Regions from separate parts of the Homo sapiens genome. Here all the other regions are linked to region 2. Evidence: promoter capture Hi-C in 16 types of primary human blood cells and fetal thymus (Javierre and others, 2016). All regions are on one chromosome and are shown on one strand. Each heading gives the region's core, a stretch centred on a gene start or on the middle of the fragment in contact. The rest is flanking DNA. Distances are from core to core; before and after follow the strand shown.

The links. The method cuts DNA at HindIII sites, captures the fragments that hold promoters and counts their contacts. A CHiCAGO score of 5 or more calls a contact.
Region 1: a fragment that was not itself captured here is called in contact with the fragment with the promoter of SERGEF in region 2 in 3 of 17 cell types (non-activated CD4 T cells, total B cells and naive B cells); the score reaches 6.4 in non-activated CD4 T cells.
Region 3: a contact is called between the fragment with the promoter of SPTY2D1 here and the fragment with the promoter of SERGEF in region 2, in 4 of 17 cell types (total B cells, naive B cells, non-activated CD4 T cells and 1 more). The highest score is 7.2, in total B cells.
Region 4: the fragment with the promoter of IGSF22 here is called in contact with the fragment with the promoter of SERGEF in region 2 in 14 of 17 cell types (total B cells, naive B cells, non-activated CD4 T cells and 11 more); the score reaches 21.8 in total B cells.
Region 5: a contact is called between the fragment with the promoter of UEVLD here and the fragment with the promoter of SERGEF in region 2, in 4 of 17 cell types (naive CD8 T cells, M0 macrophages, total B cells and 1 more). The highest score is 8.0, in naive CD8 T cells.
Region 6: a contact is called between a fragment that was not itself captured here and the fragment with the promoter of SERGEF in region 2, in 1 of 17 cell types (non-activated CD4 T cells). The highest score is 5.3, in non-activated CD4 T cells.
Region 7: a contact is called between the fragment with the promoter of PIK3C2A here and the fragment with the promoter of SERGEF in region 2, in 12 of 17 cell types (total B cells, M0 macrophages, naive CD4 T cells and 9 more). The highest score is 19.0, in total B cells.

What each region holds. Positions count from the first base shown.
Region 1 is chr11:18,707,489-18,710,778 of GRCh38, reverse strand. It overlaps IGSF22 (immunoglobulin superfamily member 22), which reads left to right. Exons shown (of 23, transcript NM_173588.4): 16 at 1-124; 17 at 324-452; 18 at 1,096-1,392; 19 at 2,484-2,572; 20 at 2,783-2,975. All of the region lies in intron 2 of IGSF22-AS1 (IGSF22 antisense RNA 1), which reads right to left. Among named protein-coding and RNA genes, the nearest start is that of IGSF22-AS1, 2.7 kb to the right of the region's middle. The HindIII fragment of the contact is 2,384 bases long and covers 849-3,232 here.
Region 2 is chr11:18,011,758-18,015,214 of GRCh38, reverse strand. SERGEF (secretion regulating guanine nucleotide exchange factor) reads left to right here and starts at 2,168. Exons shown (of 11, transcript NM_012139.4): 1 at 2,168-2,264. The coding sequence starts at 2,205. RefSeq lists enhancers at 1,451-1,500, 2,859-3,375, 3,376-3,457 and a silencer at 1,881-2,500. The HindIII fragment of the contact is 12,002 bases long and covers 56-3,457 here.
Region 3 is chr11:18,632,626-18,636,001 of GRCh38, reverse strand. SPTY2D1 (SPT2 chromatin protein domain containing 1) reads left to right here and starts at 1,660. Exons shown (of 6, transcript NM_194285.3): 1 at 1,660-1,804. The coding sequence starts at 1,745. It overlaps LOC105376578 (a long non-coding RNA gene), which reads right to left and starts at 1,653. Exons shown (of 2, transcript XR_931097.3): 1 at 1,041-1,653; 2 at 9-122. RefSeq lists an enhancer at 1,170-1,439 and a silencer at 2,496-2,675. The HindIII fragment of the contact is 3,460 bases long and covers 1-2,964 here.
Region 4 is chr11:18,724,537-18,727,682 of GRCh38, reverse strand. It overlaps IGSF22 (immunoglobulin superfamily member 22), which reads left to right and starts at 1,495. Exons shown (of 23, transcript NM_173588.4): 1 at 1,495-1,609. The region is part of intron 2 of IGSF22-AS1 (IGSF22 antisense RNA 1); the gene reads right to left. The HindIII fragment of the contact is 7,417 bases long and covers 1-3,146 here.
Region 5 is chr11:18,587,371-18,590,841 of GRCh38, reverse strand. It overlaps UEVLD (UEV and lactate/malate dehyrogenase domains), which reads left to right and starts at 2,108. Exons shown (of 12, transcript NM_001040697.4): 1 at 2,108-2,229. The coding sequence starts at 2,188. It overlaps LOC112268073 (a long non-coding RNA gene), which reads left to right. Exons shown (of 4, transcript XR_002957242.2): 3 at 1-306; 4 at 562-749. RefSeq lists enhancers at 1,991-2,040, 1,946-2,240, 2,301-2,360, 2,401-2,550, 2,951-3,060. The HindIII fragment of the contact is 11,919 bases long and covers 1-3,471 here.
Region 6 is chr11:18,769,038-18,772,515 of GRCh38, reverse strand. It overlaps PTPN5 (protein tyrosine phosphatase non-receptor type 5), which reads left to right. Exons shown (of 15, transcript NM_006906.2): 2 at 445-577. The coding sequence starts at 558. Among named protein-coding and RNA genes, the nearest start is that of PTPN5, 21 kb to the left of the region's middle. RefSeq lists enhancers at 1,005-1,504, 1,505-2,006, 2,258-2,307 and a silencer at 1,839-1,888. The HindIII fragment of the contact is 3,375 bases long and covers 512-3,478 here.
Region 7 is chr11:17,206,137-17,209,294 of GRCh38, reverse strand. It overlaps PIK3C2A (phosphatidylinositol-4-phosphate 3-kinase catalytic subunit type 2 alpha), which reads left to right and starts at 1,309. Exons shown (of 33, transcript NM_002645.4): 1 at 1,309-1,447. RefSeq lists silencers at 1,161-1,240, 1,591-1,850 and enhancers at 1,381-1,490, 996-1,518, 1,519-2,042. The HindIII fragment of the contact is 7,601 bases long and covers 1-1,348 here.

The DNA of each region.
Region 1 (3,290 bases), core at 791-3,290, 700 kb before region 2:
GCCGTGACCATCACGTGGAATGCCCCTACCCAGGATGGGGGAGCCCCAGTGCTCGGCTACATTGTAGAACGAAGGAAGAAAGGCAGCAACCTGTGGGTGCCAGTCAACAAGGACCCCATCCAGGGTGAGGTCCTTGGAACAGAGGCCCAGGAGTGACCAAAGGAGGTCTTGCTGAGTGGACCCATTAACTACTGACACAGTCCCTCATCCAACTCTTCTGGAAGTTTTAACAACATCCCATGACCTCCTCTTCTATGTCTCTCACTCTTGTTCTCACCCCATGGATGCCTCTGGCCTCACGACCCCTCATCTTCCCATTTCAGGCACCAAGTGCACTGTGGATGGTCTCCTGGAGGACACAGAATATGAATTCCGAGTTATAGCTGTAAATAAGGCAGGCCCTGGACAGCCCAGTGTGCCATCCAGCTCAGTAGTGGCCAAGGATCCTGTTAGTGAGTATGCGGCTGCCAGGTCCTGACACATAATGGAATTAGCCCATTCAAAGTAGAGAAAGAATTTCTTCCCCGGGAAAGTATGACACGAGGTATCACAGTCTCTACACTCTGGAAACTGCCAGCCTCATAGAGGGACAAGATTCACACACAAGAGAAAGCCAGCAAATAAAGATTGAGAGTCAGGGACAGTGAGGAGGTGGGGTGCAAAAACGTTTTTTAAATTTCGTGTATTTCTAGTTAGGTGAGGTAGGAGAGGCATGCTGAGGGTTGAGTAAGGGTGTGAGGTAGATGGTTGGAGGGTGTTGCATTTAGGAAGCAAGGTGAAGGTACTGCCTGGAAGTGGATGTGGTGGAGATGGTTGGGTTAAAGGCTGGGGTTTTGAATACAGAAGCTTTGAATATGTGGGGTATGTTGAATTTAAGGGGTATTGAGTTTAAGGATGAAAGTGTTAAAACAGTAAGATAACTGAATTTGAATTTGGAGGTTGAGTGTATAAGGCTAGGTACTAAGGGTGTTAACTGAGGGATCTGGAGCTAGAAGTAGTGAAGGATGGGGTTCAGGAGTATTGAGTGTGGGAAGTGAGCAAGGCATTGAGTGGAGATGAGTTGGAGGGGCTGACTACATGTCTGTTCTACCCCAGAACCCCCAGGCCTGGTCCAGGACCTGCATGTATCTGATTCCTCCAACTCCAGCATTTCCCTGGCCTGGCGGGAGCCTGCAGAGGGAGACCCACCCTCTGGCTACATCCTTGAGATGAGGGCTGAAGACACAAAGGAGTGGTCCAAGTGCACAAAGATCCCCATCTCAGGCACCTGCTACACAGTGGGAGGACTCATCGAGAGGCAGAAATACTTCTTCCGAATCCGGGCTGTGAATGAGGCTGGGGTTGGGGAGCCTGTGGAGCTAGACAAGGGGGTCCGTGCCATGCCACCACCAGGTGAGGACACAGAGAGGGCTGGGGATTCATGCCCAACATTGTACCTCCAAACCTTCTCCTCTGGGGCCTCATCCCACAGGAAAATTGGATGATGCTAGGATCATGAAAAAGTCATCCATAGTTGTTGTGCCTGGACAAAGTTAGGGGTAACTTCAGGGGCACCCCTACTAAATCAATCATTGTGTGCCAAATAGCATCTACTGTGTGTCAAGGTGTAACCACCCAATGGGTTCTTCTTGCGCATTGTACACGCAAAACCAGTTCACTGAGACCACAGCATTGCAACAAAGAGTTTAATGGACACAAGGCCAGCCATGCTGTATGGGAGACAGAGTTATTACCCAAATCAATTCCCCGAAAATTCAAAGTCCAGGGAGCCTGCTTCTGACTGGGGCCTCAGGACTTGTGGGGTGGAGGGAGAGCAGGTCCAGGTGGAGCCATCAGTCGTCAGAAATGCAAAAACCTGAAAAGACATCTCAACCACCAATCTTAGGCTCTACAATAGTGATGTTATTTGCAGGAGCAGCTGGGGAGTTGCAAATCTTGTGATCTCTGGAATAATGGCTGGTAATCTTTTATGTCTACACCTTAGCAGAATTCAGGCTCCTCACATCCTCCTAACCTGGTGGCCTTTCATTAGCTTCGCAAAGGTGATTTAGTTTGGGGGAAGACTGTTATCATCTAAGCTATAAACTAAATGTCTCTCCCAACATTAGCTTGGTCTGAAACCAGGAATGATTAAGGGCAGTTTGGAGGGTAAAGGCAAGATGGGGGTTGGTTAGATCAGATCTCGTTCACTGTCATAATTTTCTCGCTGTTATAATTGTTGCAATGGCAATTTCAAAAGGAGGTGTTAGGGTTATAGAAACAAGACACAAGGACTTGCCTTCCAGGGTCTTGCGTACTAGTAGAAGGAGACAGATGAGAAAACAAATAAATGCTTCACAGGGTTGCAGGGCAGCTAGATGTCTGTATGGCCTGTAGTGGGGGCATAAAGGAGGAGAGGTTGGGAAGGCTTTGATGAGGAGGCTTAAAGCAGAGTCTTCTTGAAAGACAGATCCATGCCTCCACCTCTGTCTCCTCCATCTCAGCTGCACCCAAGTTTGACCTCAGTGCCCGGCTGAAGAGTCACATGGTGGTTCGCGCTGGGACAGCCCTCTGCATCCATGCAGCCTTCTCTGTGAGTTGTCCCTGACCCTGACCTCCATACACTGTCCACATAACCAAGATGGCTATTGTAGCCATCACAGTCTCTGACTCTGACTCTGACTCTGCCCCTCACCAGACCCCTAGTGCGACAGCCTGGCAGGAAACTCCTCGACAATGGAGGAAGGCCTGCCCCCAAATATCATCTGTGTGACCAGTTGTGCCATCTCCTGTCACTACTCAGGGCTCACCACCACCTGACGTGATCTGGCAGAAAGATGGCGTTCCCACCAAGGGCCGAGAGACAATTACCAAGAGCAAAAACCACTCCCAGTTCCTCATTAATAGCACCAAGCGCTCTGACTCAGGGGTGTACCGAATCTTGCTTCAGAATGAGTTTGGAGAAGCACGCTATGACATCCATGTGCGCGTGGCAGGTATGGAGAGAAGGCAGAGGCCTCCAAGACCCATCCCTGTACACTCTCCAAAGCACAGCTCCCCAGTGCCGCTTGAGTTCCTACCACAGGAAAGTCATGCCTTAGGGCCATGAAGATTTCTTTGACACCACAGAGCAAGACTTTATCATACAGAGTATGGTCGGCAGAGAGAGTAGAAATGGGTGGAGGGGCAGGAGGGACAAATGGAGATGAATCCATTAAAAATTGGGGTGACTGCTTAAAGAGAGCTGGAAGCTTTAAAATAAAGCTCTAAACCCCCAAGGAAGGAATGGATTCATTTTTACTGAACAGTAA
Region 2 (3,457 bases), core at 919-3,418:
AAAAAGGCTAGTCCTGTGGAAAAACTTTGATAAAACAAACTTTAAGGTTGAAGCTTTTTTCCTCCTCCAGAACTGAGAAAGGAGTGGGTGTGCTTAGTTTCTTAATTTCCTTGTCTCTTGTTACTCAGTGGATGCCTGGGACTCCTCCAGGGTTGGGGAGATGTAGAGGGGAGGAGAGGTAAGGAGGAGAAAAGTTCTTTTTGGTCTGATACTGTTGTGAATTGTCATCAGTGCTTTCTGTACTTTGTAAATATTACATGCTGACATTTTCTTGTGGGCATTTTGGAAGACCTTCCCACCTTCTTATTTCTTGGGATTTCTTGATGTAGGTAAATGTATCTCTCTGGGCTGTTAAATTCATTTCCCTCACCCTCAAGGAATCTAGTGATCGACTGTCCTGTGGGTGTCACTTCACCCTTCCAGAAATTCTCTTGGACAAGGTCTAAGACCATCCCCCAGCCAGTTTGCTCAGGTATGGGAAATACTCACATGGGAAATGGACAGTTTTTATTTTGAAAAACTGTGGGTGTGAAAGACCTCCCCAAAGCATCAGTTTGTCTTTGCTCAGCTATTAGAGCAGATATCCAGCCACAAGCCCTTGTATTTCTCAGAACGGATTGGACAGAAGCCTGTCTGGGTCCTAAATCTAGAGGGATGCATACCAAGCTCTCTCAGGGACCCAGGTAAAGTAACTTTCCTTAGACCTGAGATGGGTTGAGACCCACACCACATTGATAATTGTGGCCACATATCCTACTAGAATTCTCTCTGGCCTCTCAACCTTTTTCGTAGACTGAAAGTCATACACTGGTTTCTAGACAGTTGCTTTGCAAGACCTGCTTTGGTGGTCTTGAACCTTACTTTATGATATAGGAGTAACTGGCACTTGTTGCTCAGCCAAAACTGAGCGGTGAAGGATCCCATTTTTACATCCTGTTACACATGCTTCAAAGAAATGGTCAGCACAAAAAAGCCCACTCATAAGACAGTCAGTAAGCATGGTATAGCTCCTGCACATTCAGATCCCTAGAGAATGAAGAGCTGTTTTATCTCTCCAAAGTTTGCTTTTTTCTTGGTATGGTCATCGACGTTCTCCAGATGCCACAGGTTGGAGAGATAAAGGTGAGGGGCTGCCCTCAAGTGGTCTTACAGGCAGAAACTCCTAAAAGTGGATGGAGTGAAAGAACAGGAAAGGACAGTGTAAGAGCTCATTGGAGACACTTCCCAGAAGCCCAGGGGTGAAGGGCAGTGAGTGCTGGAGGCCCGTGTCAGCAGAGGGGCCAAGTGCTACCGAATGTGAATGTGGATGATCATCTTTAATGTGACCCTATGTGTTCTGTATTCCCGGTACGCGGTGCCATATTTTCCTTCAGATAAATTGAACTTAATTAACTCCCATCAGCAACACGACGCTGTCTGAGAAAAGCCATTTTATATGGAAATGTTCGTTGGGTGACGATTATCCAGTATTATTAATAGAATGAGCTCAGGGCCGTGCCCGGAGCGCCGAGGCTGCCCCGGCAGGAGTCGACGCTAACCAGCCTCCCCCATTCAGCGTCGCGAGGCGCGGGTTCCCGCTCCGTGCCAGGTGCAGAGGGCGACACCGGCGACGTGCCACTCCACTCGCCTCCCAAGGCGCCCCCTCAGATGTTTGCGAACGCACACCAAAGCGGGCTCAAGACAATTGCGCCTGAGACGCCGGGCAGGACCCTGCCCTACCCCTCAGGCTCCATTTCCTGTTCCCGCAAATGGTGATGCCATCGCTGCCCTGTCAGCCCCTCTGGGCTGTCGTGGGCCTCCAAGGAGACAAAAACGCGAAGGAGCTTTGTGAACTGTGGCGCGCAGTGCACCTGCATGAAACATGAAATTATGACTAAAAATAAAGAGTACGAGGGGGTAGGAGCGAGAGGCTGAGAGGCCCAGCGAGACAGGAGGCTGCGGGCGGAGACGCTGCGAGCGCCGCCGGGGCGGGCTGACTGGGAGGCGGCTCCGGGGCTGTCGTCCGGCCCCGCCCACCACTGATCCCCAGTGGCCCGAGGGCCCGGCCGCACCCTCTCTCCCGGCCTGCGGGCCGCTTCCCACCACAGACCCCGCCCCGCGCCCTACCCATCACGCGTCCCCGGTCCGGCTCCGGCGCTCACCTACCCCCGGCAGGCGCCGCCCCCGTGCCGTCCCTCCCGGAAGCGCCGGCGGAGCGTCCTCGCATGGAGCGCGAGCCCAGCGCCTCGGAGGCCGCCCCCGCGGCGGCCGCGCTCTTCGCCTGGGTACGTGACTCCGCCCCCGGGCCGGTGCAGGCCCTGAGGGGCGCCGAGATGTGGGAGCTGCTGGCCGCGGCGTGGGCAGTTCAGGGGCTGGGCGGCTGAGGTCCGAGCCGGGCTCTGGGTTGAAGGATCCTGGGCTGGGAGCGGAGGGGGAGCGGAGGAGGAGCGGGCGGGCGGGGAAGGAAGGGTCTTCGCGGTCGACTTAGGGGCCTGCCGGCTGGCGGGGTCAGGGCCGGAGGGGCTGTGGCGCCGCGGGAAGAACCTGCCTCGGGGCAGAGCGTCTGGTTCCGCGAGAGCCCTCCAGCCCGAATAGCGCCTGGAAGACAGCGCGGAGGGCTCGGTGGAGAGGATCGCCCGGTCCCAGAGCTCCGTGGGGCCACCTGTGCCCCCCACACTCCTGATGCCTGGAGGAGGGAGACCCTGTCCCAGCCTGGCGAAAGCATCCTTTAGATGTGAGGCCTGCGGTGTTTGGCCGCGCACAAGGCACAGACCCTGCCTATTTGCTGACACTCTGCTGTGACCGGTTCTTGCATGTGTTGGGGGAGTTGGGCTGCTGTTGGTTTGACGGGAGCATTGGGAGAGACAGGGTCATCTTGATGTGTGTCTGGGAGAGAGGAGGGTTCATGCACAGGAGCGTGGCAGGTGGCCGACCAGCATGCACGGGAACAAGCAGTCGCTGCGTCTTGTGCTTCTTCATAGCACGTATCACAATTGTAATGATGTGTATAATTTATTATTAACGTCAGTCTCTCTGGCTGGAAAGTAAGTGTGGTAAGAGTGGGTGCTGTGCCTGTCTTGTTCACGGTGCCTCTCTTGGTGTCTGGCACATTGTAGGTCCCCAGTAAATACTCGTTGACGAATGAATGAACGAGCATCTGTGTGCCTACCCATGTGCTGGTGTTGGGGAAATACACATGAGTGAAATACACGAGTGAAGGACTTCCAGCTCTTGTGTTGGGGGAGAGCAAAATTATAACCTGTATTGCTGTTAAAATCAGTATTAGTTGTCCAATTTTTAAAGAAGTAATGATCAGTACAAGGCGGCAATTGTTGAATGTGGGGCTGCAATTTGGCAGGAGGGAGAGCATGGCGTGACCTGCGGTAGTCTGGCTGGCTGGGCGTCTTTGAGGTGGCCCGGGAGCTGGGGGTGGAGTTGGGGATTGAATGTGTGCTGTCTCTGGCTTTTTCCAGGCAGG
Region 3 (3,376 bases), core at 411-2,910, 620 kb before region 2:
AGACTAGGTGGCCTAAACAACAGACATTTATTGTCTTAACAATTCTGGTGGCTAGAATTCCATGATCAAGGTGTGGTTACCTTGAGGTCTCTCTCCTTGGTTTGTACATGGCTGTCTTCTCCCTGTGTTTTCACAAAACGATGTAGGAAAGAAAGGCTAATCTATAATCAGAGGAACAAACGCAGCTGCCTGTTATGTAGCTCAGGTTCCATAATAACATTCTTTTAAGGCGCAAAATAACTTAAAGTTCCAACAGCTTTGATTTTGAATTACGTTCGCAGCATTAAACCATCAAAGAGTAAGAGCCAGCAGCTTTGTCTAGCATGTTTTTTGTTTTTTTTTTTTGAGACGGAGTCTCGCTCTGTCGCCCAGGCTGGAGTGCAGTGGCGGGATCTCGGCTCACTGCAAGCTCCGCCTCCCGGGTTCACGCCATTCTCCTGCCTCAGCCTCCCAAGTAGCTGGGACTACAGGCGCCCGCCACTACGCCCGGCTAATTTTTTGTATTTTTAGTAGAGACGGGGTTTCACCGTTTTAGCCGGGATGGTCTCGATCTCCTGACCTCGTGATCCGCCCGCCTCGGCCTCCCAAAGTGCTGGGATTACAGGCGTGAGCCACCGCGCTCGGCCTGTCTAGCATGTTTTAACAGCTTGACATATTTACATACTGTATCATTCTCACCCGTCTTAAGTGTACGATTTTTAGTACATGTATAGTGCAACCATCCCCACAATCCAGTTTGGAGGCATTTCCATCCCACCGAAAAGATCCCGAGTACCTGTTTGCTATCAATCCCCTGGCGGGTTCCCACTTGCAGACCCAGGTTTGCCTAATTATTTTCAGTGTTTTTGCTAAGTCGAAATGACCTTACAGATCCAAGATAACTCTCCAAAAGAAGTCAGGACTAGGATCCCAATGAATATGAATATGAAGCATATGTTCATCAGTACACCAAAGTTATGTCAAGGCTGGGTCTGTATGTGAAATTCCTTAATCCATTGCCTGAGCAAAAACACAGGTTGGCTGCTCCACATAAAACTTACTTTCTAAACGGGGCAAAAGAAGTAAGCGCGTGCCCCCATCCCCGGCACGCGTGCATCTGAGTAGGAGGTAAGCGCACGGCATGTGGCCGAATTTGATGAGTAATGGGCATCCAAGACAGGACCACGGCGCTGCTGTGTGCGCCTGCGCAGCTTCGCGAGCGCCTAGACACAAGTAGCCCAAACCCCGGCTCGAGATCCGTCTGTTCAGCTGTTGTGGCGCCGCCGTTTTGGATCTAAGCGCCTACCCGTGACACCCAGAGAACCCAGGCCTGGCAAGTAAACCCTCTACCCCCTCACTTTCTCTACCCAGCGCTCACAAGGAGCAACAAGATGACAAGACCGCGCGCCCGGGCCACCAGGGAAGCCGCTCTCTCGCTTAGCCACACCCCCTTGGTTGCTAAAATGCCTAGTCCCTGCCCCTCGGGTCGACGCCAGCAGCCACGTATCACGTTTGTACGTGTCTCGGCCTAAAAGCGGAAGTTACGCAGGGACTCGCGAGCGCTGTGGCGGCCCTGAAAGGATATAGGCCGTGGAGGGAAGGGGGCGGGCAGACGGCATAGGAAGGCGCCGGAAGTGGTCCCGCAGAGGCGGGGTGGGAGTGGGGCTCCCGAGGCAGTGCAGTTGGCTGTAGCTGGGCGCCTCGGTTAGGTGCGCTGTCAGTCCTTTCCGAGTGCCTGGCCCAGTCTCTCCCGCCTCGGCCCAACATGGACTTCAGAGAAATTCTCATGATAGCTTCCAAGGGACAAGGTGTCAACAATGTGCCGGTAAGTAGCAGCTGGGGCATCAATGTAGGGGACCCTAGTCTTCCAAGTTCGGAATGTGTGTGGCCCATGGAACTTCTGGGCAGCCGCCTATCGGCTCCGGGAGAGGAAAGACCCGGACGCCTTATTTCCTTTTCTTGGGTTTATACTCTTGGGAACTCGGGAGAAAAGAGCTTGGGACGAGACGCGGGAGCCTTCCTGTGAATGGGTTTCGCCGGCTTATTTACCCCTGCAACAGGGACTTTGCGGTTTGGGTGTTGTAGCTAGAATTGCGTGAAAGCCGTGAGTGAGCTGTGCCTGGCACGCTGTGGATTCTAGCGCTGGTAGTTTTTGGCTTCCACATAAACTTCAGCCTAGAGATTGGGAAGGAAATATGTATGTAAGGGAGTTAGGGGGTTTGGGGTCCTTGGCTTGATAGCTTTTTGGCTGGCTTCTCATCGATCTTCAAGTCAAACGTTTAGCGATTTCTTGAAAGAATTCTCTGACTCGGCCCCACCCACTCAGCCACCGAGGTGATTAAATTATCACCTCCCAGGGGATAGGTATCATCTTTTGGGAAGAGAAGTTTAGCAGATTCCACGAAATCCTTGGCCAACAGAATAGGTGAGCTAGTTTCAGCTTCTGTTTACTTGTAGCCTTCCAGATTTCAGTCTTTGTTTAAAATCTAGGTCCCATTTGGTCAGTAGATGTTTGTCAGTTCGCTTACAGTCGCAAGAGCGGTGTAAGACTTAAATGGTAAAGTGGTGGAGAGCGCCTGGTTTCTGGGGGTTATGGCTGTTTTGCATAAGCTAATCATTTCCAGATTTTCAGATGGTACCCACAGCACAGCTGTAAACCGATAAGTTGCATGGTGATGCCTGCGGTTTGAGCAGTGAGGTATAGAACTAAAACGGCTCTCAAAGTCAATTCAGCTAGAATTTATTGAGCTCCGACGAAGTGCTCTGCATTTCCTAGATATTCGTATATTGCAATATTCGTTTTTTTCTCTTCTGCAGCTTTTTTTTGTCTTCTGAGGCTAGTTCATTCTTTTATCCCTTTGAAAATATTGATCTGAAAAAGGTCTATATTTATGTTTATAAATATATGTATATATACACACACACAGCCATCCCTTATCCCAAGAACTCTGAATAACCATTCCTCTAAGCCGTGAGTCATAAGCTTTGCATGTTGAAGGTATAGACTCAAACCTTTGAAACCCAGATCAACAGATTTACTTTCTAGAAGCATCTGTAAATTTTCCAGATGAATCAATATTGGGTCTAGTAACCATTCATCTTTGCATAATTTGGTCTGTATTTCATTCTAGATCTTATTGAATTTCAGTAAAGGTCAAAGATAGTACTAGCTTTGATGCCCAGTACTGTTCTGTGGAAGAATCAGAACTAAGTCATTTCTTATTCTGAAAGCCAGTAGCTGCTGGGAGAAAAGCAGACAGATAATCCTAAAGCAGAAAATTTCAAAATATGTGTATATGTCATAATATATGCATTATCTATGATTGGAATAACAGAAGAATCAAAAAGGGGAAAAAAGTAATTTAAAATTTAATAGATGGGCGCAATGGCTCAGGCC
Region 4 (3,146 bases), core at 246-2,745, 710 kb before region 2:
ACAGGTGTGGAAGGCTTCCAGGGAAGGCACAGTGGCTGGCAGGTCACCATTTCCAACAGATGTGCCAGAGAAGCCAAGGCTAGGGTAAGGAGACATTCAGGTCACACCCAGGCCCCTCCCTGTTGGCCAAACTCTTATCCCATGTTAGCTCCACAGATCCCAACAGCAGCTGCAGCCCAGTAATTTCCCTTGTAAGGCCTGGGCTCAGAGTAGCTCCTCCCAAGGGGCCCAGGGAATCTGCATGTGGGCTGAGATCCTGAGCCATCCTGGACACTCCTGCTCTATTCTTGTCCCCTGCCCCCCTGGGATGGAGCAAAAGTAGCCATGATGCCACTGCTGGCAGGTGGGGGTCACCCCAGGGCAGAAGGAGGGGTCCAGGGCAAGGGTGCTGACCAACAAGTCCTTACAAGGTGCCAGAACCTTGGGTGGGATCCAGGGTCCAGGCATGCGGGGTGTGCTACAGATGATGAGAAAACAACAGGGTGGGCTGGACACGGTGGCTCACGCCTGTAATCCCAGCACATTGGGAGGCCGAGGGGTGGCAGATCATGAGGTCAGGAGTTCGAGACCAGCCTGACCAACATGGTGAAACCCCATCTCTACTAAAAATACAAAAATTAGCCGGGCGTAGCGGTGCACGCCTGTAATCCCAGATACTCAGGAGGCTGAGGCAGGAGAATCGCTTGAACCTGGGAGGCAGAGGTTGCAGTGAGCCAAGATCGTGCCACTGCATCCAGTCTGGGTGACAGAGACTCCATCTCAAAAAAAAGAAAAGAAAAGAAAACAACAGGTGGCTGAAGCAGCCCAGATGGAAGTCCTTGAGAAGAGGTGGCCATACTCTCCAGTCACCCTCAAGCAGAGACCTCCCCACAACCCCCGGAGGATGGGCCCTCCTACTCTTCTACCCAGATTAGGGAGATTGGGCTGTTGAAGTGGGAAGAGGAAGGAGACCTAACATTTCCCTGTTCTTCCCCAGGGTGGCCTTGTAAAGATACTCAGGCTGTGTATGAACCACACATAGGAGTGCAACATGAATGGGAACCCCTGGATTTGTGTAGCAACGCAGCAGATCCCAGAGGCCCTCCCCAGTTCACCGTGTCCCAGTCCCTGGAAAATACAGACCTGTTGCTTTGCTCCCTGAGCCCTGCTGGACTATGCATGCACCTGTACCTGAGTGTGTGCCTGTGCACACACACTACCCTGAGCCCCTCAGCTCAGAGAGGTCCTACCCAGCAGCAGTGAGAGCCAAAACCTGTACCACAAGGGAACAAAAAAAGTACCCCTGGACTGCCACCCTCAGCCTCCTTCCCGCCTGGCCTTCAGTGTTTCCCCCAGCCTGGATCCAGCTTTGCTTCCCGCCTCCCTTCTCCACCGCCCTCCCCCTCCCCCCACAACCAAGCAGTGTGCCATCTAGCTGAGACAGCTGCAGAGCCTGACTAAGGAATCGCCCCCAGGGGGCCAGACATTTAAGGAACAGATGACACTGGTAGCCTCACTGTTGGGGCAAAGGAAGAAGGAGACGGGCCACCCTACAGTCCAGGCACTAGCTGAGCCTCCAAAGCCGTGGACACAGCATTCGAGTGTTGGGAGGGACTGGTCAGTGCTGAAGGTAAGGCTCCCCTCCTCCCTCAGGAAGGGGACAAAGCTGACCACCTTCTGAGCCCAGAGGGGACTATAGGGTAGAGGGCAGGAATAGGAACAGGGGAGTAGTCTCAGAACCCAAAGGTAGAAGCAGCCCAGGCAGAGATATATTAGGGGGTGGAGAGAGGGAATAGAGTTTAACCCCTAACTACCTGGGTTAAAGAAGGCTTTGGAGCCCTCTGGGACGCCACTGGACTGGAGTCAAAAGCTAGGAGTCTAGTCTGAGTGACCTTGGACAGGTCATTTCTTTCAGACATCAGTTTCCTCATATACGAAATAGGACTTTAAAAACTGCAATGCTGGGCCAGGCGCGGTGGCTCACGCCTGTAATCCTAGCACTTTGGGAGGCTGAGGTGGGCGGATCACGAGGTCAGGTATTCGAGACTAGCCTGGCCAACATAGTGAAACGCCATCTGTACTAAAAATACAAAAAATTAGCCGGGTGTGATGGCGGGTGCCTGTAGTCCCAGCTACTCGGGAGCCTGAGGCAGGAGAATTGCTTGAACCTGGGAGGCAGAGGTTGTCGTGGGCCAAGATCGTGCCACTGCACTCCAGCCTGGGCAACAGAGCAAGACTCTGTCTCAAAAAAACAAAAACAAAAAAACTGCAATGCTGGCCACATGCAGTGGCTCACACCTATAATCCCAGCACTTTGGGAGGCCAAGGCAGGCGGATCAATCGAGGCTAGGAGTTTGAGACCAGCCTGGCCAACAAGATGAAACCCTGTCTCTACTGAAAACACAAAAATTAGCTGGGCATGGTGGCACGTGCCTGTAAACCCAGCTGCTGGGGAGGCTGAGGCAGGAGAATGGCTTGAATTCGAGAGGAGGAGGTTGCAATGAGCCGAGATCACCCAAAAAAAACCGCAATGCTGGTTAAATAAAACATTGAGAAAACATGGTGCTCTGAACAGGAATGAGGAAACGCTATCATCTGGTATGGAAAAAATCTCCAAGACACATTAAATGAAAAAAGAAAGGGTCAGAATAGTGTGTATAATGGGCTACCTTATGTGCTTTTTTAATTAAAAAAAAAAAAGGAAGATGATAAGAACACATGAGTTTTCCTATTTGCATGATGGAGGTCTAGAAGGAGCCTAGAGACTGGCTACCTGTTGCAATGGGGAAGGTTGTAAGATAGACGCAGGAGTGGGAGGGAGCCTGTCCATATGGATTTTTATATTGTTTTATTCTTTAACTATGTGATTGAATTACCAGTTCAAAGAAAAATGTAAGAAAAACTAAACCTTTGCCTTTACCATGTCGCAAACACAAGCAGAATTGTAGTGATGTTTTGTCATCTGTTTTAGCATTCCACCAGTGCCGGGGTCCCCAGGGCCCAGGAATAAGAGACACAGCTTCCTTCTAAAGCCCACTCCAGTATGGCTTAGTCAGGAAGTTCTTTCTTAGGTCTGACTGCATTCCCTCCTGATGAAACATCCAGCACTGCCTCCTTAGTGCCATGTAGCTATCAATAGGTATCCTCAACTCCCTCCAGGCCTTACT
Region 5 (3,471 bases), core at 859-3,358, 580 kb before region 2:
ATTAAAAGCCTGAGAAAGGAAGAGGCAGGCCCTGACATCTGAGAGCTGGTCTGACACAGCTAGACTTCAGGGTTGTTAGAAGCTGGCCTGATGCTCACAGCTTGGCCCAGTTATTCTTCTGTGGGACATAATCTCACAGAACACCAACATGAGACAAGGTCAGTCAGACTATAAAAAAGGGACACAACAACAAGGCCATTTCAAAATTGTGTCTAAGCAGAGACAAGAGAGCAAGGTCACTGTGCAAGCCATGAAATACCAAACGTCCTTCTCTGCTATTATGAGTGACTGCTGCTTCTTTACTAGGTATAGCTTTATCCTCACTCTAGTCTGTCCATCTTATAGACAATACTTATTCAGATACCTAGTCACAGAAATGTCCCTGCTTTCTGACAGCACCCAATCCAGGGTGAAGCCTGGCTTTCTTGAGCCCTCCCGCAAATCGCCCAAATTCTATAATAGGTTCTCTCACCCTCACCAAGCTGTCCCAATGGTCCTCCACAACACCTGCTTCCTCACTGCAAGAACTATTAATAATGAACTCAACTTGTTTAAGCACAGGTGTGTTCCTGATGGTCTCTGGCTGGAGGGCAGGGACAGGCCAGAGTCCTTACAATTGTCTACAAAGTCCCACAGTGGTTCTTGGACTTCATCACCCATCAGAATCATCTGGAAGAATTGTTAAAAGAGAATTGCTGGTCCCCAACCCCAGAGCCTGTGATTGAATAAAGCTGGGGTTGAGGTCTTAGCATCTGCATTTCTAACAACTCCCAGCACCTGAGGCTGCAGATCTGGGGCTCACACTAGAAGACTCACTTCTCTAAACCACTTGTTCCCCCGTCTTATTTCCCTGACTTAGCCTCCTTGTCTCCACTCCCATCTTACTTCATTCTACTCCAGCCACACTGGCCTCCTTGCTGTGTTGAGCCTCCCTGGGCACATGCCTTAGGCTACTGCTTTGTCTGCACTCGGATTCGTAACACTTACTCCCTCACCCCTCAGTGAGACCTACCCCAATCTCCCTACCCTTTTCAGAATTTATTCTCCACAACACGTAATCAACCTTCTGACATGCTGAATAATTTACTTATTACATTTATTGTTTTGCTCTCTCTCTGCTAATAAAGGAATGACACCCTTAAGACATCAGCTATCTGAGTGTATTTTGTTCACGGCTGTATCCTGAGACCTGGAAAAATAGCTGGCAAGTAGTAGATGCTCAACAAAAACTTTCTGAATGAATGTTCCTTCCAGCTTTTCAGCTTCTTCTCCTGAGTCAGGGCAGCACTCCCTTCAGATCTTCCTATAAATACAATCTCTCTCCTATATGTCCAACCTCTTGACAATTACAATATCCAGCTCCTGGGACTTTTCGCTTCAGTGGCTCAGGCCAGGGATACAGGGCAGGTAAGTCAGCCATGGGCCAAGGAGATCAAACAACGCCAGAAAATTACTGTATCCTGCATCTCTTCTTCACCCACCTTCTCCAGATGACCTTATCCACCCATCTCCCTCCTCTCTTGTTTTCCAACTATTTGTTCACCTGGATTTCTCCTCTCTTTGACCACCAACATTGTTATGGCACCCCTAAAAAAAATAAAAAAAGCAACCACTCTCCCCGTGCTAAGCCACCCTCATGCTGGGGCTGTCCTATCTCCGCTTCTCCGGCAAGGCTCCTCCTGACTTTGTTTTTCCTTTCTACTCCCTGAAATTTTGCTTCTGAAGTTCCATTACCGCCTCCTTCCTAAATTCAACTGCAATTTTCGGTCTTGCTCTTTCCTGATACACTGTGGAATTTAATACATCTGTCTGGAAACTCTTCAAGAACACCGCGTGTTGCCTCTACCTCCTTTAGTGCTTCTACTCCGGTCCTTCCTAGTCTTCTCTTCATAAGTGTCCCCAAGTTTCCTTCCAGGAAGATGGGTCGTGGTTTCCTTGACGCCAATGCGTTTCTGGCCGTGCCCTCGTCACTTGCCCACTCCGGGGTCACGAAGGAGAGGCCCCGGATTCCGGGCGCAGCCGCGGCTGAGCCCGGGGCGTTGAATGCGGGTGGAATTTCCAGTCTGGGAAGGGGCGGGGCCTTGGACCGCCGGGAAGTTTGGTCCTCAGCGGCTTCCGTCCTGCAGCAAGTCCGGAAGAAGGTCCGGGGGCTGGAGTCCTGGGACCTAGCTCGGGACCGGCCTGGAGATGGAGTTCGACTGCGAGGGCCTGAGACGGCTGCTTGGCAAGGTGCGGGCAGTCCGCTGGGCCAGTTTGGGTCCTCAGGGTCTTGCGGGGGGTGCCTCTGCCTTTGGCCAGGTTGCCTCCGTTTTGCGTTTCCCGGCTTGTAGTGGGGCTTGGAGCCGGGGCGGCTGGTCTGAAACCGGCTATGGGGCGCGGCCCCAGGGAGGCTGAGGGGACCTGGATTCTGATTTCTCCCGCAACTCTGAGGTTTCCCAACCTCCACCTGGTGCGAGCCCTCCTCATACCCCCAGCTTCACTGACCTCAAACAGCTCCCAGCACACGCCTAACCACGCCTTTCTCTCTTTCTCTCTGCTGAAATGGTCTGCCTTTTTTTTCTTTTTTCTTGAATTGCAAAGCTCATCCTTTGTAAGACCCAACTCAGTCACTCCCTGTAAGATTGAATCAACCCTTCTGTTTTGAAAGATATCGATTATCACATTGTGGAGTAATTATGTATTTACAAACCGTAATCTTGCTGTGAGCCCCTTTGACTGCAGACATTGTGCTTTTGTATTCCCTTCCTCTAGCCACTATGTTTGACAACACCATAGGTACTAAGTAACTGTGCAGTGAATGAAAGACCTGAGTAGATTTAGAGATGAAGACAGAGCTTGAAGGCCCTGGAGAGATCTTAATGTTGGAAGGCTGGGGAGTAGGCGGGCCGACCTAGAAATCTGACCTATATTTCTGAGACCTGACTAGCCTGAGTTTCCGGTGTACAATCTGAGGGAATCCCCGCCAATTTTCTAGTTAAGAAGACTAGTTTTCACCAGTTTCCTAGTTAAGGTGGTTTTTTGTTTTTTGTGTTTTTTTTTTTGACAGAGTCTTGCTCTGTCCCCCAGGCTGGAGTGCAGTGGTGCGATCTAGGCTCACTGCAACCTCCACCTCCCGGGTTCAAGCCGATTCTCGTGCCTCAGCCTCCCAAGTAGCTGGGACTACAGGCGCGTGCCACCATGCCTGGCTAATTTTTGTATTTTAGTAGAGATGGGTTTTCACCATGTTGGCCAGTCTGGTCTCGAACTCTTGACCTCAAGTGATCCACTCGCCTGAGCCTCCCAAAGTGGTGGAATTACAGGTATGAACCACCGCACCCGGCCTTAAATAATTCTTAATGCTTCTTAAGACTTCCTAATGCAGAAACCATAGTTTATGCCATTTTTGTTATACTTGCCTCTTTCTTTGTTGGGGCAGTTTACATACCCGTGGGAGGTTTTGAAGTCCTAAGATTGAAATTGTTTATGTAAGTG
Region 6 (3,478 bases), core at 950-3,449, 760 kb before region 2:
GTTTGGGATCCAGAACACTCAAGTTTGCAGTCTGCTCAGACGTGAGGACAGATGGCTGGACAGTGGACAGCTGGGCAAGGAGGGTAGGCAGCTTGGCAGGACGGAAATAGCAGTGAACTAAGCATTGGGAGTCCTGGGCTCAGAGCCTATTCATTCCACGAGTTTGCTGCACGCATCAGTCTGGGTTCTGTGGTTGCCAGCAACAGAAGAGGACTCTGAGTAACTTAGGCAGAAAAGATATTTATTAGAAGGCTTTGGGGTATGATATAAATACTGAGTTCTGATTCTGGGCTGTCTGTGTAGCAAGAGGCAAGCAGGGCACCAGGGGAGGAGAAAGGTGACTCCCAGAAGGAAATCAGGATTTTAACTACCTGAAAGCAAATTGTTGGCACACTGTGTGACCTGAGACTAGTCACTTAATCTCTCTTTGCCCCGTTTTCCCAGCTGGATGATCTGAAGCTGCCCTCTCTCCTTCATTTATATCACCAGCTTGCTTTTTGCTGAGAAAGCTTCCTGCCCTGGAAGATGGCACCCTTCCCCATCCAGACACCTTGGGAATGAATTATGAGGGAGCCAGGTGAGTGAGCGTTTACGCCGTCCCCCTGCAACCCGCCCACTGAGGAGGCCAAGCCTTCTCCATCTGGATGCTCTGGGACACGTGACCCATTCTCATGAGGTGTTCAGCCTGATCATTCCTTTTCCATGAAACCAGCATGCCCTCTGCCCCTGCCTGCTGAACGTGCTGATGAAAATCTGGATGGCATTATGGGCCTCTTCCTGGCTATGGTTTGGCCATCTTCTTTAATTGGGATGCTCCTAGCTGGAGTCTGCCTTCCTAGAGCCCCTAAAGCTACCAACCCTGAGACCCTGCCACTACCCTGCATTTGGCCTTTAAGGTGTACATCAACAGGCTCAGGCCCTGTGCTAAACACCTGGGATGCAGAGGTGGTTGAGGGGGTGAGGATGCTCCAGAGTCGGAAGTTGGTGGGAGAGGCAGGTGCATACACAGCTAACTATAGCAGCAGAACAAAGTAAGAGACAAAGGGACATATGAACCAGGTGTGTGGGGGAGCCCAGAAGTGGGAGGACGCAGTTCTTCCTGAGAGATCAGGGAGTGCTCCGTGGAAGACGCACCGCCTGAGTCGCACCTTGGAGAATGAGTAAGATTTGACAAAAGGGGAAAAGGATCTTCCAGGCTGAGGGAACAGCACAAACAAGGCTCGAAGGGAGGAATGGACAGGTTTGATTCAGCGAATAGAGATGTCAGGTGGGGTTGGAGCTTTAAGAGGGTGGTAGGAGCTCCACGTTGACAGTGAGGGGTATTTACGGGGTACCAGGAGCACAAAGCCCAGGATAGAGGGCATGTCTGCCTGGGCTTGGCTCAGCCTCACACCCAGGAATCCTGGCTTCAGCATCCCAGTTCCCCCTTGCTCCTCACCGACCTTGGAAGCAGGCTCAGGCTCCCTGATTGGCTCAGCAAACCAGCCAGCTCTTTCTCTGCATAAGTCCTGGGCAAAGCTGGGACTTCATGTTAGGAGACTCCAGGATGTCTCCTAATAGCACCCCCCATCCCCCACTCTACCCCCCAGGCAGAGGGGCGGTGCCTTTGTTAGAACACTTCACCCAGCCCACGGCAGCAGCTGTTCTGTATCTTCTGCACTGGCCGTGAACTTCTAGAAAATGGGGTGGGTGGTCTAGGCTGGATCTCCAGCACCCAGCACTGGTGGCGTAGCTGCACAACGCATTACCTTCACACATACGAACGAGCAGAGGAAGGTGATGACCTTCAAGTTACAACAGGCTTGGAGTCTGACCACCATATTTTCATAAGTGAGGCCTCAGACCCAGAGCGCAGAAAGGATTGCCCAAAACCACAAGCGTGATGGGAGGAGAGTGGAAACAGAGCAGTTTGGTTCACAGGAGCACTACTCACAAATAGCCAAAAGGTAGAAACAAGCCAAATGTTCAACTGATGAATAGATAAATAAAACATCGTCTGTCCTACAGTAGAATATTATTCAGCCTTGAAAAGGAATCCATGAAAAGGAATGAAGTACTGATGTATGCTACGGACTTGCTAAGTGCAAGAAGCCAAACACAAAAGCACAAAAGGCTACATATTTTATGATTCCATTTATATGAAATATCCAGAATAGGCAAACCCATAGAGACAGAAAGCAAATAAGCCGTTGCCAGGGGCTGTGGGGAGGAGGACAGGGAGTGACTCCTTAATGAGTACAGGATTTCCTTTTGGGGTGACAAAAATATTCTGGAAGCAGATCATTATGATGGTTGCACAACATTATGAATGTATTAAATGCCACTGAATTGTACCCTTTAAAATGGTCAAAATGTTGAATTTTATGCTATGGGAATTTTAGCACAGTAAAAAGAGTAGTTTCAGACCAGATCGGACGCTACCAGCTGGGTCTAAAGTCCATTCCTTAAACGTAAGCTGCTGCTCCCCCACTTCGTGTTACAGACCTACCCAGCCAGACCAGGTGTGAGAGAGCCAGCATCACTCTCAGTGCAGGGAAGCCACAGGGAAGCCACATGATCAAGTGGAAGAGGGCTTCCCCCGCCACCCCAGGAGGCAGGATTCCTGTCTTCTAGGCTGCTTCTTGCCCACGTGCCTCTGCTGAGGCCTAGCCCCCATCTGCTGCTCCATCCCACTGACCAGCCTACTTCTGATGGCACCAGATGTTCCACACATCTTGGGCCTCCATGCCTTGCTCTTTCTATTTGCTCTACCCAAGAAATCCTTTTCCCAACCCCCCATTCACCTAAAAACATATTTTAAAAACCAGTCCCTGGCCGGGCGCGGTGGCTCACGCCTGTAATCCCAGTACTTTGGGAGGCTGAGGCAAGCAGGATCACCTGAAGTCAGGAGTTTGAGACCAGCCTGACTAATACGGTGAAACCTCGTATCTACTAAAAATACAAAAATTAGCTGGGCATAGTGGCAGGCACCTGTAATCCCAGCTACTGGGAGGCTGAGGCAGGAGAATCACTTGAACCGGGGAGGTAGAGGTTGCAGTGAGCTGAGATAATGCCTCTGCACTCCAGCCTGGGCAACAGAGTGAGACTCCGTCTCAAAAATTAATTAATTAATTAATTTAAAAAAAAACCAGCTCCTGTCTCCCCCTTGGAGAAGACTTCCTCTTCCCCTTGCCCCTCCCACAAATGAGCAGAGCCTTCCCCAGGATGGTCACATGCATACATCAATTAAAGCAGGCATCAGGGTACAGTCGTGTCTGCATGTCTGTCTCCCTGAGAAGACTGGGAGCCTGCAAGGAGGGGCCTGGATTATTCATCACTGTATTCCTAGGGCAGCTCCAGGCCTTGCTCACAGGAGGTGCTCAGCACACGCCTGTTGAATGCGACGATGGCTTTGGGAAGCTACTTTCACTCCGGGACATCCTCCATCAGTGAAGTGGGGGCAGGCTGGGTGATTTCCAAGTCCCTTCATCCCTGGTGG
Region 7 (3,158 bases), core at 60-2,559, 810 kb after region 2:
GGGGCGGGGTTGGGGGAAAGATAGGAGTTGGAAGGGGGGGGGGTGTACAACAGCCAGTAGCTACAGCCGTAAGAAATAATCACATTTGTTTCTAGAATTCCCCATAGAATAGAAACTCCATCCAATTTTACCATCCCTGCGGAGGTGCAGGCATGTTTATTACAGCGCTATGAGGGATTCATCCACTCCACATTCCCCATTGCCCTAGCCCCCTTTCGCCAACCCCCGTCCCTGCCAAATCAGGCCAATTTCTTTCTTTCCAGTTATTTGCTGAAAGTTCAACTTCTCTTAGAGCCTTCTAATTATGCGTATATCATATAGGCTGATAATTTTTAGTTTAGGCTGAGAAATGCAGCCTAAATCAGTCTGCCACATCAGATTGTGAACGTCTGGATGGTGTGGACCCCCTTCTCCTACTGCTTAAAAGACAATCTTGTTGTAAAACGCTATGGAATCGTTCCTCTCCCCTTAACATCTTTGTGCCCCAGAAGCCCCATCTGTAAATGGGGATAATTTTCCTATATCTTCCCATGGTTACGTAATTTTTAGATCTAACACGTGAGGACCAAACGCTTTACAAGCATAATCTCATTAAATTCTCAATAAGAATATATTATTATGGAGGTTGCATGTGAAAATACTTTGTAATGTAGAAAGAGCCGTCTGGCTGTGAGTTATTATCAGGGGGTTATCTTCCTTACCTGGCTGTTGTGAGGATGAAACGAGACGCCGACCTGAAAGCGTTTTACGTGCTATCAAGCATTTTACAGAAACCACGTGATAGGCTACTAATTACCCACCGTATACCACCTGACCCACCGTGAGGCCTCGGTAAATACTGGTTGGAGTGGACGAGTTTAAGTCTTGCCTGTTCCTTTCAGTCTTCCAATCACAAAGTAATCTCGGCGCCGCCAGGGGCCAAGACACAAATCTGGGAACCTCAGCCTAGATGGAGGAGGGTGCGGGGTCCCGGGAGAGGGGATGAGAACAATAGGGTACTTCAGTGCCCGGGCCCTGTTTAGCGGGTCTTCGGACTCAGGGCCCGAGGGGCGGCCAGCTGGGGTGTCCGGAGAGCTCCCCTCCCCAGGTCTGGGGTGTGCACGGAGAGGCGTCCAGAGCCTGCTCAGCATTCCTCGGGAGAGAGCCAGACCCTGGTCCCCCGGGCCCGTGCGCCCCAGCGCCCCAGCTCCCTTGCTCACGCCACCCCGGCAGCGTCCAAGCCCCGCCCGCCAGCTCAGGTAGGCCGTCCGCGCCAGCCAATTCGCAACAAGTCCGGGCGGGGAAGGCGGTGCTTCCCTGTCCGGAAGTGACGTGCTGCGCTTGGCTGGCTGTGGAGTCGGCCGAAGCTTTCGGCGGCGGCTGAGCCAGCTGAGGGGAAAAATGGCTCGGACTGTGGCGGCTTCGGCGGCTCAGGTTGTGGTAGAGGCGGAGGCTCAGGCAGCTTGAGGTGAGGAGCGGTCGGTGCGGCTGGGGACGATATTCGGGGTCCTGCTCTGCAAGGGTGGAGAGGGGCCCCGGGGTTCCCGGGCTGGAAGGGTCTCTTGTCGCGGCCCCCAGTGCCTTGGGTGCCCGCGTCTGACCCTCCATCCCGTGCTCTTGGCGTTGCCCAGCCCGACTCCCCCCTCCCTCCGGGCCTTGCTTCCACCCAGGCCGTGAGCAAGTGCTGCGCTGGAGGTGCGAGGAGCCCGCGTCCCCACCAGGCCCCTCTTCTCGGGAGCGGAGGTGCGCCAGGGAGTTAGTTTTGTCCCACAGAAGGAGGGCAGGCCCCCCGGCCGCCGGCCCCCCTCCCCCGCCTTGTCCCGCGGGACCGGGCTGGAGCCGCAGTGGCCGGTCCTATTTTCTTGGCAGATTGTTAGTTCTGGCGAGTGTGTGTGTTGTACTTCTCAGTGACGGCCCCTTCTTTCACCTCCTGTCCCATCTCTGGCTCTGGGGGCCAAGGATACTTTTTCTTCTTCCCGGACCCCCCACTCCCACCGCGTTGCCTTTAGCCGCGAATCCACTTGCTTTGGGAACACTATTCTTTCAGTGTGTATTTAGCGCATCATCCTTCTGAGAGAGCGGTCAGATTAAAAAATACTAGCTTAACTCTTCCTGAGTGACGGAGGAATCATAAATAATTGAAGAAAAAGGCACATACTTATTTTCCTCACTGAATTTCTGGCTTTAAAAACGACATTCTCTAGCTGTGGAATTATTTTTTGGGGGAGGAGGGATTGAGGAGGGAAATGAGGAAGGAGAAACTAAGGAAAAAAGTCTGGACATAACGTGGAAGAGAGAGCCTGTTGTAGTTCTTTTCCTATACTGGCCCGATAGAAATTGAGGTTATAATTATATTCTTATTTTGAACAGTGGGGGTTTGAATTAAGTGAAACGAAGGAGGCCTGCCTCTTTGAACAAGATTAGTTATTAAAGAATGTCCTGAAATCTTTCCTGGTGGGTTTCAGGCAGAAAAGCTCTGTTGGGAAAATTTTTAAATCTATTGTAGCATCAAAGGCCACAGCATATAAGAGATGCAAGAAGAAGAAAGCTGTTTGTAGGGGAACGGTGAAGACATAGTAGAAAGAGGGAAGGCTGCACAGAAGTCCAGGAACTAATTCCAGGAGAGACTTTGTACCTTTGCCTCCTTGGCTTGTGGTTCAAGTCTCCACAAGAGACTCCTTTAGCAGCTCTGCCATAGTTGGGGTTGGTGCTCTTTTTTTTTTTTTTAATTGACATGGGGTCTCACTGTGTCGCCCAGGCTGGTCTACCATGCCCAGCAGAATGGTGCTTTTTTTTTTTTTAAATTTGATCTAACCTTATCTGGACAGGATGGTGCTCTTATTCACAGCAGCAAATTAGACGAAAGGACCCTAGTTGAAGTATACAGATTTTATTTTTATATAAGATATTTGTTTAGTATCAAGACAGTGGTTACATACTGAAAAACAATGTAACTGGGAATAGAGAGATTTTATTTGTTAACTCAGATTTAGTTCAAAAGTGATTTTACGTAGGTAGAAAGCACATATGGAGTTTCTTCCATAAATTCCGTAATTTTGGCTGAATTAATACATTCTAAAGTAGGTTTTTTCTTATCAAAGTGTCTTGCTATTTGTGTTTTATATGCGTGTTTCCTGCAGTTTTCTTTGCAAATAACATGTTTTAATGTTTTCATCACA